Regions from separate parts of the Homo sapiens genome. Here region 1 is linked to region 2. The links are contacts of gene promoters, found by promoter capture Hi-C in human tissues and cell types (Jung and others, 2019). All regions are on one chromosome and are shown on one strand. The core of a region is centred on a gene start or on the middle of the fragment in contact, and the rest is flanking DNA. Distances in the headings are between cores, read along the strand shown.

Region 1 (7,034 bases), core at 2,456-4,955, 590 kb before region 2:
ACCTGACTTTCACACCATGCTGTGAGTTGATAATTGGCTGTCCTGAACCTGTCATGGTCTTTCTTCGGTGCTTCAATAGCACTGAACAACAAGTGATTAGATTTCTGAGTCTGTGTAGCTACTTCCCCACGTCTATCAAATGCTAGAAATATAGCTCGTGAACCAGTGCTTCCTTTTCCTTTGTATCTCAGCCAATTCATCACAGATGAAAGTACTAGTGATTATTAGTTAAGCAATTGCACAGCTTGCCATTAATCCACTCATCACTGACAATGGGGACTCTATTGCCATTTGGCTGGGGAATGATCCAGCTCTAAAATCCCATCTTAGAATCTGTTCCCTAGCGGCCGGGTGCGGTGGCTCACGCCTGTAATCCCAGCACTTTGGGAGGCCGAGGCGGGCGGATCACGAGGTCAGGAGATCGAGACCATCCTGGCTGACACGATGAAACCGTGTCTCGACTAAAAATACAAAAAATTAGCTGGGCGTGGTGGTGGGTGCGTGTAGTCCCAGCTACTTGGGAGGCTGAGGCAGGAGAATGGCATGAACCCGGGAGGTGGAGCTTGTGGAGAGCAGAGATCACACCACTGCACTCCAGCCTGGGCGACAGAGAGAGACTCCATCTCAAAAAAAAAAAAAAAAAGAAAAAAGAATCTGTTCCTTAGCACCCCCATTCCTGTTTCCAAATGAGTTTCCTGGAAGTAGATCCTGAGACAATAATTTTTGAGCAAATATGATGTTATTAAGGAACTAGTCCCAGCAAAGACTAGTAAGAGATTGTCGTGGGCTGGGTGTGGTGGCTCATGCCTGTAATCCCAGCACTTTGGGAGGCTGAGGCAGGAGGATCACTTGAGGCCAGGAGTTCAAGACTAGCCCGGGCAACATAGTGAGACATCTGTCTCTACTGAAAAACTATGAATTAATTTTAAACAAGACATTGTGGTAAGCAGATACGGAAGGGGAGGAAGCCAAGCAGAATGTACTATCAGGCCAGAGTCCCACAGTGGATAGGCTTCAGTTTGATCTGACAGGGGCATTTGTGCATGTAGATGGTGCTGCAGAGGCGTGTTAACCTTGGGCTAAGGCTAGTGCCTCCCAGGCACTTCTAGCTCCTGTGCCTGTGGACGGTGTGACTCTGGCAACCCAAAGGCAGTCCTCTAAAGAAGAGGTTGGCCAGGCGCAGTGGCTCACACTGTAATCCCAGCACTTTGGAAAGCCAAGGCGGATCACCCAAGGTTCTGAGTTCGAGACCAGCCTGGCCAACATGGTGAAATCACATCTCTACTAAAAATACAAAAATTAGCCAGGCGTGGTGGTGGGTACCTGTAATCCCAGCTAGTTGAGAGGTTGAGGCAGGAGAATCGCTTGAACCTGGGAGGTGGAGGTTGCAGTGAGCCAAGATCATGCCACTGCACTCCACCCTAGGCAACAGAGCGAGACTCCATCTCAAAAAAAAAAAAAAAGGAAGCGGCCCAGGAGCTGCCATTAGGACCAAAATCACATTACAGCTAAAGGTGTGTAAAGCCATAGTATACAGGAACCTGGGCAATCTGGGCAGAGTACCTGCATTGTTTTCTGCAAGAGAGAGTGTGGACTGAGGACCAAGCCAGCCTTTGGAGTGGGCCTTAGAAATCTGCAGAGGAGACCAAGAGAAGAGGCCAGTGGGGACAGAGGAAAAACCCAGGGAGCACTTCAGGAGAGGTGTGCTGCCCTGGGCAGTGTCTAGTGCAGCATCCAGAGTGGACTCCAGGGCTTCTGACCTGGGGACTCTGGATGGTGCTCCATGGGCTTCCACTGAGATGGGACGGTGGGGAGCTCAGGAAGGGTTGTGGTTTGGCTTGGGAGGTGGAGACTTTGATTTCGTTTTTTGAGACAGGGTCTTACTTTGTGACTCAGGCTGGAGTGCAGTGGCATGATCACAGCTCACTGCAGCCTTGACCTCCTGGGTTCAGATGATCTTCGCACCTCAGCTTCCCAAGTAGCTGGGACTTTAGGCACGTGCCACCATGCCTGGCAAATTTTTACAATTTTTTTTGCAGAGATGGGGTTTTGCCATGTTGCCTAGGCTGATCCTGAATTCCTGGACTCACGTGATCCTGTCACCTCAGCCTCCCAAAGTGCTAGGATTACAGGTGAGAGCCACTGTGCCCAGCCTGATTTCATTTTTATCTATTGTATAAGAAAGAAAATATAGGCAAGGCATGGCGGCTGTCACCCATAATCTCAGTGCTTTAGGGGGCTGAGGTGGGAGGATTGCCTGAGGTCAGGAGTTTGAGATGAGCCTGGGCAATAGAGCAAGCCCCCGTCTCTACCAAAAAAAATTAGCTGATTGTAGTGGTGTGCACCTGTAGTCCCACTACTTGGGAGGCAGAAGTGGAAGGATCTCTTGAGGCCAGGAGTTCAAGGCTATGATGAGTTATGATCATGCCACTGCACTGCAGCCTGGGCAACAGAGTGAAACCCCCATCTCTACAAAAAAAATTAAGAAAATAATAAAATAAAAATTAAAAAAGATAGGCAAAATATTTTATATGCCACTCCTAAAGTTTCTTAAATTGTAATGAAATAACCACAAGGGAAAAATTTCTGACAACATTCAGAGATGCTACTGCTATTAAAAAACTGGATGATCGTTTCACTTTTCTCTGTGGGTTTCATTTAAAGGTACAGCAATAAACCCATATGCCTTGATTCCTTATGGTTTAATTTTACGTTAGGTCTCAGTGTGACTTAGTAAGTCATTATAGGAACTCTACTCTGTGTTAATGAAGGCAATGAAGGCATCCTCCCTTCTCTAAGGGGCTGGCCGTGTGACAGGGAAGTTAGCTGTGCTTGTAAAGCCACATCACATGGAGAAAGAGGACGAGGAGCCACTCTACTGTGGCCTTTACAGATGGCTTCACAGAGGTCTTGGCTCTGAGCCTTGGTTAATGAGCTGGGGTTTGCTGATCCACAAGTGAAGGAGAGGCTGTTGGGTATGACAGTGGTGCCAGAGAGCAAGATGCTCTGTATGTGTGTGTGTGTGTGTATGTTTTTTTTTTCTTTTTTGAGACAGAGTTTTGCTCTGCTACTCAGGCTGGGGTGCAGTGGCACAATCTTGGCTCACTGCAACCTCTGCCTCCTGGGTTCAAGCGATTCTCCTGCCTCAGCGTCCGCAGTGGCTGGGATTACAGGTGCACGCCAGCACATAGGCTAATTTTTTTTTTTGAGACGGAGTCTTGTTCTGTCACCCAGGCTGGAGGGCAGTGGCATGATCTCAGCTCACTGCAACCTCTGCCTCTTGTGCTCAAGTGATTTTCCTGCGTCAGCCTCCCGAGTAGCTGGGATTACAGGCACGTGCCGCCATGCCCAGCTAATTTTTGTATTTTTAGTAGGGTTTCACCATGTTGGCCATGATGGTCTCAAACTCCTGACCTCAGGTGATCCACCCTCCTTGGCCTCCCAAAGTGCTGGGATTACAGGTGTGAGCCACTGTGCCCAGCCCGAGATGCTGTGTTTCAGAGGCAGGGGGGCAAGAGGAAAGGAGTCTAGACAGGTTTGCGAAAGCCAGGAGGAGAACCGCACAGGTGGTGCCACCATGAAGGCCCAGCTCAGCATCTTGCACGCAGCAGGCTCTCTGTAGGACTCGCTGATTAATTAGCCCCTAGGTAAGTTTCTTGCTCCAACTCTCCACTGACTGAAGCTAGGCTCTGATATTGAGTGGAGGGAATGTGGGAGAGGATCTGAGCATCACGTAAATGCCTGAAAACAACATATTTTTAGGATGAGTTCAGCATAATACTGGCCCTAATTATTTATTTATTTATTCTTTATATTTTTTGAGAAAAGGTCTCACTCTGTTGCCCGTGCTGGAGTACAGTGGCCTGATCTTAGCTCACTGCAGCCTCGAATTCCTGGGCTCAAGCCATCCTCCTGCCTCAGCCTCTTGAGTAGCTGGGACTAGAGGCATGTCCACCATGCCTGGCTAATTTTTTGTATTTTTAATGAAGACGGGGTTTTGCTGTGTTACTGGTCTCAAACTCCTGAGCTCAAGCAATGCCCCCACCTTAGTTTCCCAAATGCTGAGATTACAGGCATGAGCCACTGCACTTGGCCTTAGTTATTTTTCCATCCACTGGTGGTTTTTTTTTTTTTTCCTGAGTCGCTCTGGAATGCAGTGGCGTGATCCCGGCTCATGGCAGCCTCTGCCTCCTGGATGCCAGCAATTCTCATGCCTCCGCCTCCCAAAGTGCTGGAATTACAGGTGTGAGCCCACCATGCCTGGCCTCCACTATTTTTGATGTCACAATCTTATGGCTCTGGGGATGGTTTTTAGAAGCTTTGTAACTGTAATTTTTTTTTCTCAAATAACTTAAGAGTTCCTAAAAAGAGCACCTGCTTTATTTAAGAGGAATTATGCTTTATCTCATATTATTTGCAATCTAAGTATCTGAAATTCTTAGAGTCACCTACCCCACCACACGTGTGGACACACCTAGGGCAGTTAGAAGAACAGGTTGGGGCAGAGCAGGTTGGAGCCTTGGCACCCTTCAGTGTGCTAAGGTCACAGGTCAGGGACACGTTCAGATGCACCGTTTGGTATCATGTTGACGTTTGGTTTTATTCTAAATGGTTCATTCGTTTCTAGTATCTAATGAAGATAAACATCAGAACTCTGTAACTCTGCAATTCGTTCATTGGGAAAAGAAGTTCCTTCTGTAGGGTCTGTTCCCAGGGAGGGGGAGAGGGAAATACACCTGTGGCTGGTAAAGGTGACACTGGAGGAGTTGGGGTGTGGCCCCACCTTTACACACCTGGAGGGTGGAAAATGGTCTTTGTGAAGCCTTTCTGTGGTTCCAAGTGTGAATCTTCTGGAGGGGCAAATCAGTTTTTCCTCTTTGTGACTTCCTTGTTTTAAAAAGATTGTCCCTGGAGCCAGGCGTGGTGGCTCACGCCTGTAATCCCAGCACTTTGGAAGGCTAAGGTGGGCGGATCACCTGAGGTCAGGAGTTCACGACCAGCCTGGCCAACATGGTGAAACCCCATCTCTACTAAAAATACAAAAGTTATGCGAGTGTGGTGGTGCACAGCCTGTAATCCCAGCTGCTTGGGAGGCTGAGGCAGGAGAATCACGAACCTGGGAGGCGGAGGTTGCAGTGAGCAGAGATGGCGCCACTGCACTCCAGCCTGGGCGACAGAGCGAGACCCCATCTCAAAAAAAAAAAAAGATTGTCCCTTTTTTATTCTCAGGGAACACAGGTGAGAGAAGTTTAGGAGAACTCTTTGGTTCACAACACCTCTTTTTTTGTCCATCTTGTTTGGGCTTCATAAACAGCTCTTGTTAATTCAAGGGCCATGTTTTCCTTTCGCAGAGCCATTTTATGGGGATTGACTCTCAGTCGTGATGTATGATTTTATTCTGAAAGTATGACTCAGGATCAAGTGGTAAAAGTACCGAGTTTAAATGTGTTCACAAATATTTGGGCCGAGTGCGGTGGCTCACCCTGTAATCCCAGCACTTGGGAGGCTGAGGGCGGGCGGATCGCTTGAGTCCAGGCATTCGAGACCAGTCTGAGCAACATGGTGAGATCTTGTCTCTACAAAAAATAAAAAAAATTAGCAGGCATAGTGTTGTGCGCCTGTAGTCTCAGCTACTTGCAGGGCTGAGGCAGGAGGATCACTTGAGTCCAGGAGGTCAAGGCTGTAGTGAGCTGAAATTGTACCACTGCACTGGGCAGCAGAGCAAGACCGCGTCTTAAATTAAAAAAAAAAAAAATTGAAGCTAAATATATGTGTGGGTGTGGTATTAGACATTTTTTTTTGTCTTTATGTATAACTAACTGAATTCATGGCAGTTATTTGGTAGTCTTGGTTTATAGACTTTTTTTTTTTTTGAGATGGAGTCTTGCTCTGTCACCCAGCCTGGAGTGCGGTGGCACAATCTCTGCTCACTGAAACCTCTGCCTACCAGGTTCAAGCTATTCTCCTGCCTCAGCCTCCTGAGTAGATGGGATTACAGGTGCCCGCCACAACAAAAATTAGCCTGGCTAATTTTTTTTTTTGAGACAGAGTCTTGTTCTGTTGCCCAGGCTGCAGTGCAGTGGCGCGATCTTGGCTCACTGCAAGCTCAGCCTCCCGGGTTCAAGCCATTCTCCTGCCTCAGCCTCCTGAGTAGCTGAGACTATAGGCGCCGCCACCATGCCTGGCTAATTTTTGTATTTTTAGTAGAGATGGGGTTTCACCTTGTTAGCCGGGATGGTCTCCATCTCCTGACCTCATGATCCGCCCGCCTCGGCCTCCCAAAGTGCTAGGATTACAGGCGTGAGCCACCGTGCCCATCCTAGCCTGGCTAATTTTTGTATTTTTAGTAGAGACGGGATTTCACCATGTTGGCCAGGCTGGTCTTGAACTCCTGACCTCAATTGATCCGCCCACCTTGGCCTCTCAAAGTGTTAGAATTACAGGCATGAGCCACCACACTCAGCCAGTTCATAGACCTTTGAAATTAAGGCTTTTAAACATTTGTTCTTCAAACATTTACTGGGTGGGTGTTATATGCTGGGCAATATAGGCGTTGGTGTAGGAAGATGTGAATTCAAGTCCTAATTCTGTCATTTGCCAGCTGTTATGTCTTTGGGAAAATCACTTAGCTTCTTTGAGTTGCAGTATATAAACTAGTTTTCATAATGCATAACTTGTGTGGTGGTTATGAGGGTTAAGTACAAAGTATGGCACTACGTATAAAACAGTGCTTGATTTTTAGTAGGCACTTAATAAATGCTAGTTTTTTCTTACCATGAAGGATTCCAAGCTTTAAAAATTACTCTTTTTTCTTTTCTTTTTTTTATACAGGGTCTTGCTCTGTCACTTAGGCTGGAGTGCAGTGGTAGGATCATAGCTCACTGCAGCCTCGACCTCCTGGGCTCAAGCTATCCTCCCACCTCAGCCTCCTGAGTAGTGGGGACCACAAGTCCGCACCACCATGCCCATCTAATTCTTTTTAATTTTTTGTAGAGACAGGGTCTTGCCATGTTGCCTAGCCTGTTTTCAAACTC
Region 2 (7,102 bases), core at 4,367-6,866:
TGAGACTTGGGCACTGCAACTGGCTGTACTGCCCATCAAGCGCTTTGAGCATGCAGGGGGTGAAGCCAGGACACTGTATCAGTCCCAGTTACGCCCAAGGGCAGAGTGATGGCAAGGGTCTGAGCAGCTGTGCCAGCTGCCATGTCCTGGGGGTAGCCTGGTGGTGCACTCAGCTGCCAGCCTCCCTGCCTCTGCCTGTTTTCTGAGTCTGTCTCTCCTGCAACTGTGCAACTGGACAGCATTTGAATGTATCCCTCTTCTACTTGAGGTGAGACTCAGGAGCTGCTTGCTACAGAAAAATCTTGACGAGTCGGGGCTCAGAATGAGAAGGGACTGCAGCCAAGTAGTTATGCAGGTGAGCAGCAAAAGAGCCACGGGAAGGAAGAGGCTGGAGGAGAGACAAGACATTGAGGAGGAAGTGCAGACAGGGGTGGGGTCAGGAGCAATCCCAGTGGATGGAGCGGGAGGAGACACAGGTGATCTCATCTTGATGGTGGCATGGACAGAAGGACCGGCAGGTGCTTTCATGAAATGCTTCTTAAAATGACACCATCCTGGCCAGGTGCAGTGGCTCACGCCTGTAATCCCAGTACTTTGGGAGGCCGAGGCAGGTGGATCACCTGAGGTCAGGAGTTTGAGACCAGCCTGGCCAACATGGCAAAACCCCGTCTCTACTAAAAATACAAAAAATTAGCCAGGTGTGGGGGCGGGCACTTGTAATCCCAGCCACTCCGGAGGCTGAGGCAGGAGAATTGCTTAAACCCAGGAGGCAGAAGTTGTGGTGAGCCGAGATTGTACCATCGCACTCCAGCCTGGGTAATAAGAGCAAAACTCCATCTCAAAAAAAAAAAAAATAAAAAGAAAAGAAAAGAAAAGAAATGACACCATCCTAAAATGACAAGCATCCTTCTTAAAATGACACCCTGAGCAGAGTCCCTAAAAGGAACAGTTGAGGCCAGGCTCAGTGGCTCATGCCTTGCAATCCTGAGCTTTGGGAGACTGAGGCAGGAGGATGCCTTGAGGCCAGAAGTTTGAGACAAGCCTGGGTAACATAGTAAGACCCCATCTCTACAAAACATACAAAATTAAAAATAATTAACTAGGCGTTGGGGGGGCACACCTGTAGTCCTAGCTACTCAGGAGGCTGAGGCGGGAGGATTGCTTGAGCCCAGGAGTTTGAGGCTGCAGTGAGCTATGATCACACTACTGCACTCCAGCCTGGGTGACAAAGCAAGGCCCCATCTCTATTTAAAAAAAAAAAGGAACAATTGTGAATGCCAGCAGACACCCACTGTCTAGTCAGTGACATTCAGTCACTTGGAGCTGGGCACAAGGACAGTCCATCCCCCTGGAGGGTTACTCTTCAGGTCACAAGGTATAGGACCAAATCCTCCTACTCTGGGACTTTGCACTCATATCTTTTGAAATTAGAAATTTCATCCTTTTTTTTAATCAAGATCTTGATATGGGATAATAAAATTACCAATGAATAGCCCTGCACAACGTGGGAAATGTAATAAAAGGTGAAGGCAATAAAAGGTGAAGCTTCTAGCCACTCCGCGGTGATACCCACTCGTAAGAAATAAAAGTAATTATCACCTGCCCAACCTGGTCGGCTCACTCTGCATGTGCTGAAGAAAACCATTTCAGAACTTTATTTCTTATATTGAATGTCGATAATTGGATGTATTTATAAGTCTCTCTGGAAGAAAACAGCTTGTGATTTCAAGATGGGAAAACAGTCTTCGAAACAGTGAGAAACAATATATTCCCCATTTCCACACACACAAAAAGAGCTTGTTTCCTTCGATGTTTTCAGGTGCTGTTGGAATGATTTGCTTTTCCGAAGCCACCGTTCCATTTCTCATCTTGAATTGCCTCGTAGACCCCAGCAAAGCATTCAGCAGGGACCACTTCATCTGAGGCGGTGATGGGGGCTTCCTTGGGAAGGCCCCTCAGCTCTGCCTGCCTCTTTTCTACAGGAAGATAGATGCCCAGGTGGGCTGGGCTGGGGGAGAAAGGAGAGGAGGAGTAGAACGTGATGTGGGGGCTCCTGTGAGGAGGGGGGTTGATGGATGGTGGTGACAGCTGGGGTGTAGGCCTGGAGGAAGGAGCAGGCCACACAGGCCTTTGGAGTGGGAGAGCTGTGGCTACCTCTGCAGGCCCTGCAAAGGCCCAAGGCTGGGATCTGCCAGAACCAGGATAGAGAGACGGTCTCCTGGGCATTCCACACCCATCACGCTCCTTGCTTTCCCACTTGGGAAGACACTGGGTTGCCATATGCCACCCTGCCCCTATCTCACACCCACAGTCCCCTCTATTCTTCCTCTTCTGTTTATTTGGTGCTGGCTTTCTGCATCCAGTCTTCTATTCTCAGCAAAAGCAAACAATCGCAAAACACCCAAATGCCATCTTGTGTAGGGCTTTGACCATCTGAGGCTGGCGGCCCCGTGCAGTGGCTTTATTGGCTCTTATTGGCTCTTTTCAGTTCTCTCTGCTAATCCTCCTGAGCTCCTGCTGGAGAGAGGGGTTTGGATCGGCAGCTTGCAGCTCAGAATCCCCCAGGATCTCCCCATTAGCCAAAAGCAGAACCCTCGAAGCCCCGTTCTGAGGCCCTCCCAGATGGTGGACTCCCCAGGGACAGTGTGGAGGGCTCCTCTACCTCTGTCCCCAGACCAAAGATCCTCTAGGCAAGGGCAGGGTCTGGATCCCTGGCCCTCACAGCATGGCCAGTCCTGGAGTGGCACTGTGGGCAACAACTGGGTGGTGCAGGGCAGAACCAGCATCCAGGCTACCTCCAGTGCAGTCCCACAGAGCCTCTGGTAGACCAGTGCCCTCAATCCACAGCAGAAGATGGACAGGGCTCTTCCCGGGGACCTCCCCTTCATGGCCCAAGGGTGGCTCATGAGTCAGAGCCTAGCAGGCCGCCACATCTGGGCCTGCCGTCTCCAGGCAGCCAGCTGTCAGCAGCGTCCACGGAGTTGCAAGAGTGGGGGCTAGATTGTGGGGAATGGGTGGAGGAGGGAAACCTGGCTGGACACAGTGTCCCGGGACACAAGAGGTGTCTTCCCAGGGTGAAGCTTCTTTTGCAAGGCCTGACGGGAGTTGGGGGGGCCCTTCTGGAGAATAATGCTATGCTGGCTACCGGGCTACCAGGCTGACCGAGTGCAGACATCTACCAGCCACCTGCAGGGCTTGACGAGAGGAGACTGTTTCGGCCACAAGGGCCTGTGACCTCGGAGGCAATGCCGCATGAGAGTGCTGCCTGGCGCGCTGCCTTGGCTGATTTACACACTCCCACTTCGACTCTCTAAAATCAATCTTCCCCCAATTGCCTCCTGGCTCCAGCAACGTCCTGGGTCTGCCCTGCATAAGTAACTAAATGGTCTTCTCCCATATTCTGGGCGGCTTCTGGAGCCCCTGCCACAGCCTCTGATGGGGAGGGGTGAGGGGTGAGGGGCAGCCCTGCCGGAGCCCCTGATGGGGAGGGGAGAGGGCAGGGGACCTGGGTGGGCAGGGGTCATGGGCAGTGCCTCCATATTACTGTCCACAAACAAGGGAGCTCCACTCAGTTGGTGGGTGCCTTCCTTCCATTATTTTGTGTTTGGGATATTGACTTCTTTTTCATATTAGTAAGCACTCAGAGCTGGCAGCTGGCTTAATTTTGACATATTTTATGTCAAAAGAAATGGTGGGAGGCAGGTGCAATGAATGAGCTGGGGGGTATGTTTTCCTTCCTTGAAGGCGCATGGAAAGCTCATTCTGCTCACCCTTTGTTATTATGTATTTTTTAAAGCGCCACTTACTAGGGAGTTGAGTTTCTTAAGCTGAAGGCGGACCTACTGCTTAACTAGGGGTGTTAGAAGTTCTCAGGGGCCCCTAGGCCAGGCAGTGGGGTGTGAATCCTTACCTCTGTTCTTCTTCCTGGAAACTGGCAAGAGGGTGGAGAGAGCTCCTCTTGGACCTTGCCTGGAGGTCAGGGACCCCTGCAAATTGTCCATGTGTTGTGGGAAGGGGTAGAAGGGATGAGGCCCCCCCTCTTCCATTAGCTCTCGTTTTCCTTATCTGGGACCGGGAGGTGGGAGGGGCTGTCTGGAGGGGCCACATTCCTCCTGGCAGCTTTGGTCTCTGGCTGTGCCTGCAGGTTTGAGTGTAAAACCCTCTAGCAGCCCTGTGAGGTGGCCCCATTAGCTCTCTCCTGACAGATGAGGACAGCAGGGATGGTACTGGGCTTCCAGGTAACTGTGCCACGTGCCCTTCACTACCCTGCTTATGGCTGGCTCCCTTGCTCCTATTTAAGGGGCCTATTCTCCTCCCTGCTTCATGGGGACAAACAGAAGCTGCTTCTCCAGTCATAGCCCCTGGCTCCCACCAGCCTGGCCATGGTGACCCACATCCTTGTTTCGATAAAGAAACAAGAAGCATCCCCCAACCCACAACCTTTGATCAGAAGCCACTTCCAGCTGTGGGACAGCTGCAGGGTGGGGTCAGGAGCCCCACACGCCTATCCTGGGCCACCCATCCACCTGTCCACACACATCTGTACACCACACACATCTGTACACCCTTGGCGCCAGGGACGCCCTCCCCCAACAGTGTGGGGCCCCCTTCCTTCACAGGGGCAGTGAGGTCACTCCTCAGGGTATGGCTTCATGAGCTCAGCCTCTGTGTGAGCACTCTCTGGCCTCAGTTTCCTCATCTGTATAATAGACTTAAAGATAGTCTCGACCTCATAGGGCTGTGGTGAGGTTTCTATGAGCTCACATGTGCAACGCATTTGGGCCGTGCTTGTAATGCCCTGACTCTGTTGGCAGTAGGGAGGGCAGCGTCTGCTGCAGGGTCCCTACACCTTCTCTGCAGGACTCTGCACCCAGTACCAGTGCCCAGTGGGGCAGAGGAGTAAGCCTTCTGGCAGACTCTCCCTCCTAAACCCTTCTCGGCTGTGCCCACTTCTCGCCTGCCCTCCTCCCTGGCTTCCCTTCCTCCAGCTTCTCCATTCTGCAGCCCAGGAAACCTAGAAAAGATCCTACCAGACTTAACTCATAGGCCCCACAGTGGAGGCCCCGCAGGGTCTGGCCCTTGCTTCCCTTAGGCTGCCCCTCTCTCGCGCACATTCTCCTGGACGCTGCACATTTAGAGTCCTCCAGTTGCCCCACGGCCTTTGCTCAAGCCCTTTCCCTTCTTAAACAAAAATCGCCACCTCTGCCCCGACCCTAGCCTGGGTCAGTCTCCCTCCTCTCCTCCCACGTGGTTTCTTTATTCCTATGTGTTCTTCTCCCGGGTGGGCTGGTACGCCAGATCGGGGACTGAACCAGAATCAAGATGTCCTCTGCTTCAGGACCTCCCTCCCACCACGAAAAGGCTGCAGATGCTGCCCGCTAACCCGACCTACTGTCTGCAGCCGGCAGCCCGCTCATTTATCCTGGCCGAGCTCTTGGGCCCCCAATCTCCGGGAGCCCCGCCCCATCGGGGCTCCGCCCTTCCCCAGGTACCGCCCCTTCCCGTCCCGTGGAATTTGGCTCTGGAGGAGGTGGGTCAAGGACTCCATGCCCCGCCCCCTGCCCCGCCCTTACCCCGCCCCATGCATTGGCACCCGGAGGGGCTCAGCTGACGCCGCACTTCACGTGACGCCGGTGCCGGGCGAACATGGCGGCGGCCACCGGGTGAGTGCTGCGCCTCCCTCGCTCTTTCCCGCTGGCGTGGAGAGGGGCATGGGTGTCCCGGCCGGACCGCGGGTGAGAGCGTCAGCCGGGGTCGCTGAATGCCGCGGGTAGGCGCCTCTTCCCGTTGGCCCGGAGTCCCAGCGCCGGTCGGCGAGCTGCACGCTCCGAGTCAGGGTCAGCGCGGGGGCCGCAGCTCCTCTCCACCCTCCTGGCTGGCTCCGGCCCCACCTGCCCGCGTCTGGCGGCCCCACCGTGTGCGGCTGCGGTGGGGGCTGGGGTCGACACGCATGTTCGCTGCCAAGACCCCCGGGTAGGAGGGCGGCGTTGCGAGGACCCCAGGGACCCGGGCGCTTCCCGGAGGAGGCGGTATTCGAGACGGACTTGGAATTCCCTTTTCCCAGCAGGGCACTTCCCCATTTCTTTCAGGGGCCAAATGTCACCCCCTCAGGGAATCCTTCTCTAACCATCTATCCCACTTTTTGTGCCCTCATCATCACCTGATAAACTATATAGAGCATTGTTTGTACTTGTTCTTTATCTTCTCTGCATTTAGAGTGCAAGGGCAGGTATGTTACCTGCTTCTCAGTAGCCCGGTGCCTTGCACACAGTAGGTGCTCCATACTGGGCTAAATGAAAGAAAGCTGAGTGGTCGTAGTGGGAGGAAGGGTGGACAGATGGGTTCACCAGAGCGTTGGGCGGAATCTCCCAGATAGGGAGCATCTGAGCCCAGGGTAAGGGACAAAGGTTGAGAGTTCAGAGTGTTCTGGGGACAGGGGTGCATGCCTGGGGCTGGTTGGAAGGTGTGGTGTTCCAGGTGGCGGCTTCAGACTTTGCCCTGATGGGCTGGAAGGGTTTTGTTACAAGCTGCTTGATCTGTTTTTTAAAGATTAGGCTCCCCTGAGCTATGTGTGAGTTCAATGGGAGAAGGTGTGGGTCTGGTGGTACAGTGGGGTAGAGGGGGCATGGTGTAGGAGGGAGCAGTATTCCAGATGCCAGGTTGGAAACTGAGGTCAGAATGGGGGATCTAGTGGACTGAATGCATCTCTCTTTTTAAGATACAGGGAAAATGGCAACAGAAAGTGGGTTCTAAGTTGGCCCCCAAGGTTGAGGGAGCTTAGAGCATACAAATCAAATATTTTGTGGGCACCTGCTATATTCCAGGAATAGCAGTGGGTCTTCCCTTAAGGTACTCACAGGCCACTGGAACAGATGGACACATGGGACTCTGTCATCCATCTGCTTGCCGTGTGGTCTTGCCATTTGCAAAGGAGGGGCATGGACTCTGAGCTCAGATAAAGTGTGGGAAGGCTTCACTTCCTGGGTGACTTTTGTGCTAGTCCTTCAGCAATGAGACTCCCTTCAGGTAGAGAACAGTGCAGACAAAGTCTCAGATGGGTGTCAAGGAACTCAGGGTCAGATCCTTGAATCCAGCCTGTGAC

The links. Contacts are between HindIII fragments. The study calls those that stand out against the background at their distance.
Region 1: a fragment that was not itself captured here is called in contact with the fragment with the promoter of PEPD in region 2 in 1 of the 25 tissues and cell types used here (aorta).

The regions. Positions count from the first base shown.
Region 1 is chr19:34,105,654-34,112,687 of GRCh38, reverse strand. No RefSeq gene overlaps it. Among named protein-coding and RNA genes, the nearest start is that of LSM14A, 63 kb to the left of the region's middle. The HindIII fragment of the contact is 7,140 bases long and covers 136-7,034 here.
Region 2 is chr19:33,520,305-33,527,406 of GRCh38, reverse strand. PEPD (peptidase D) reads left to right here and starts at 5,616. Exons shown (of 15, transcript NM_000285.4): 1 at 5,616-5,663. The coding sequence starts at 5,647. LOC105372370 (a long non-coding RNA gene) reads right to left here and starts at 5,473. Exons shown (of 3, transcript XR_935918.3): 1 at 5,393-5,473; 2 at 3,911-3,986; 3 at 1,630-2,008. RefSeq lists enhancers at 4,389-5,351, 5,352-6,315 and a silencer at 5,407-5,606. The HindIII fragment of the contact is 21,434 bases long and covers 2,314-7,102 here.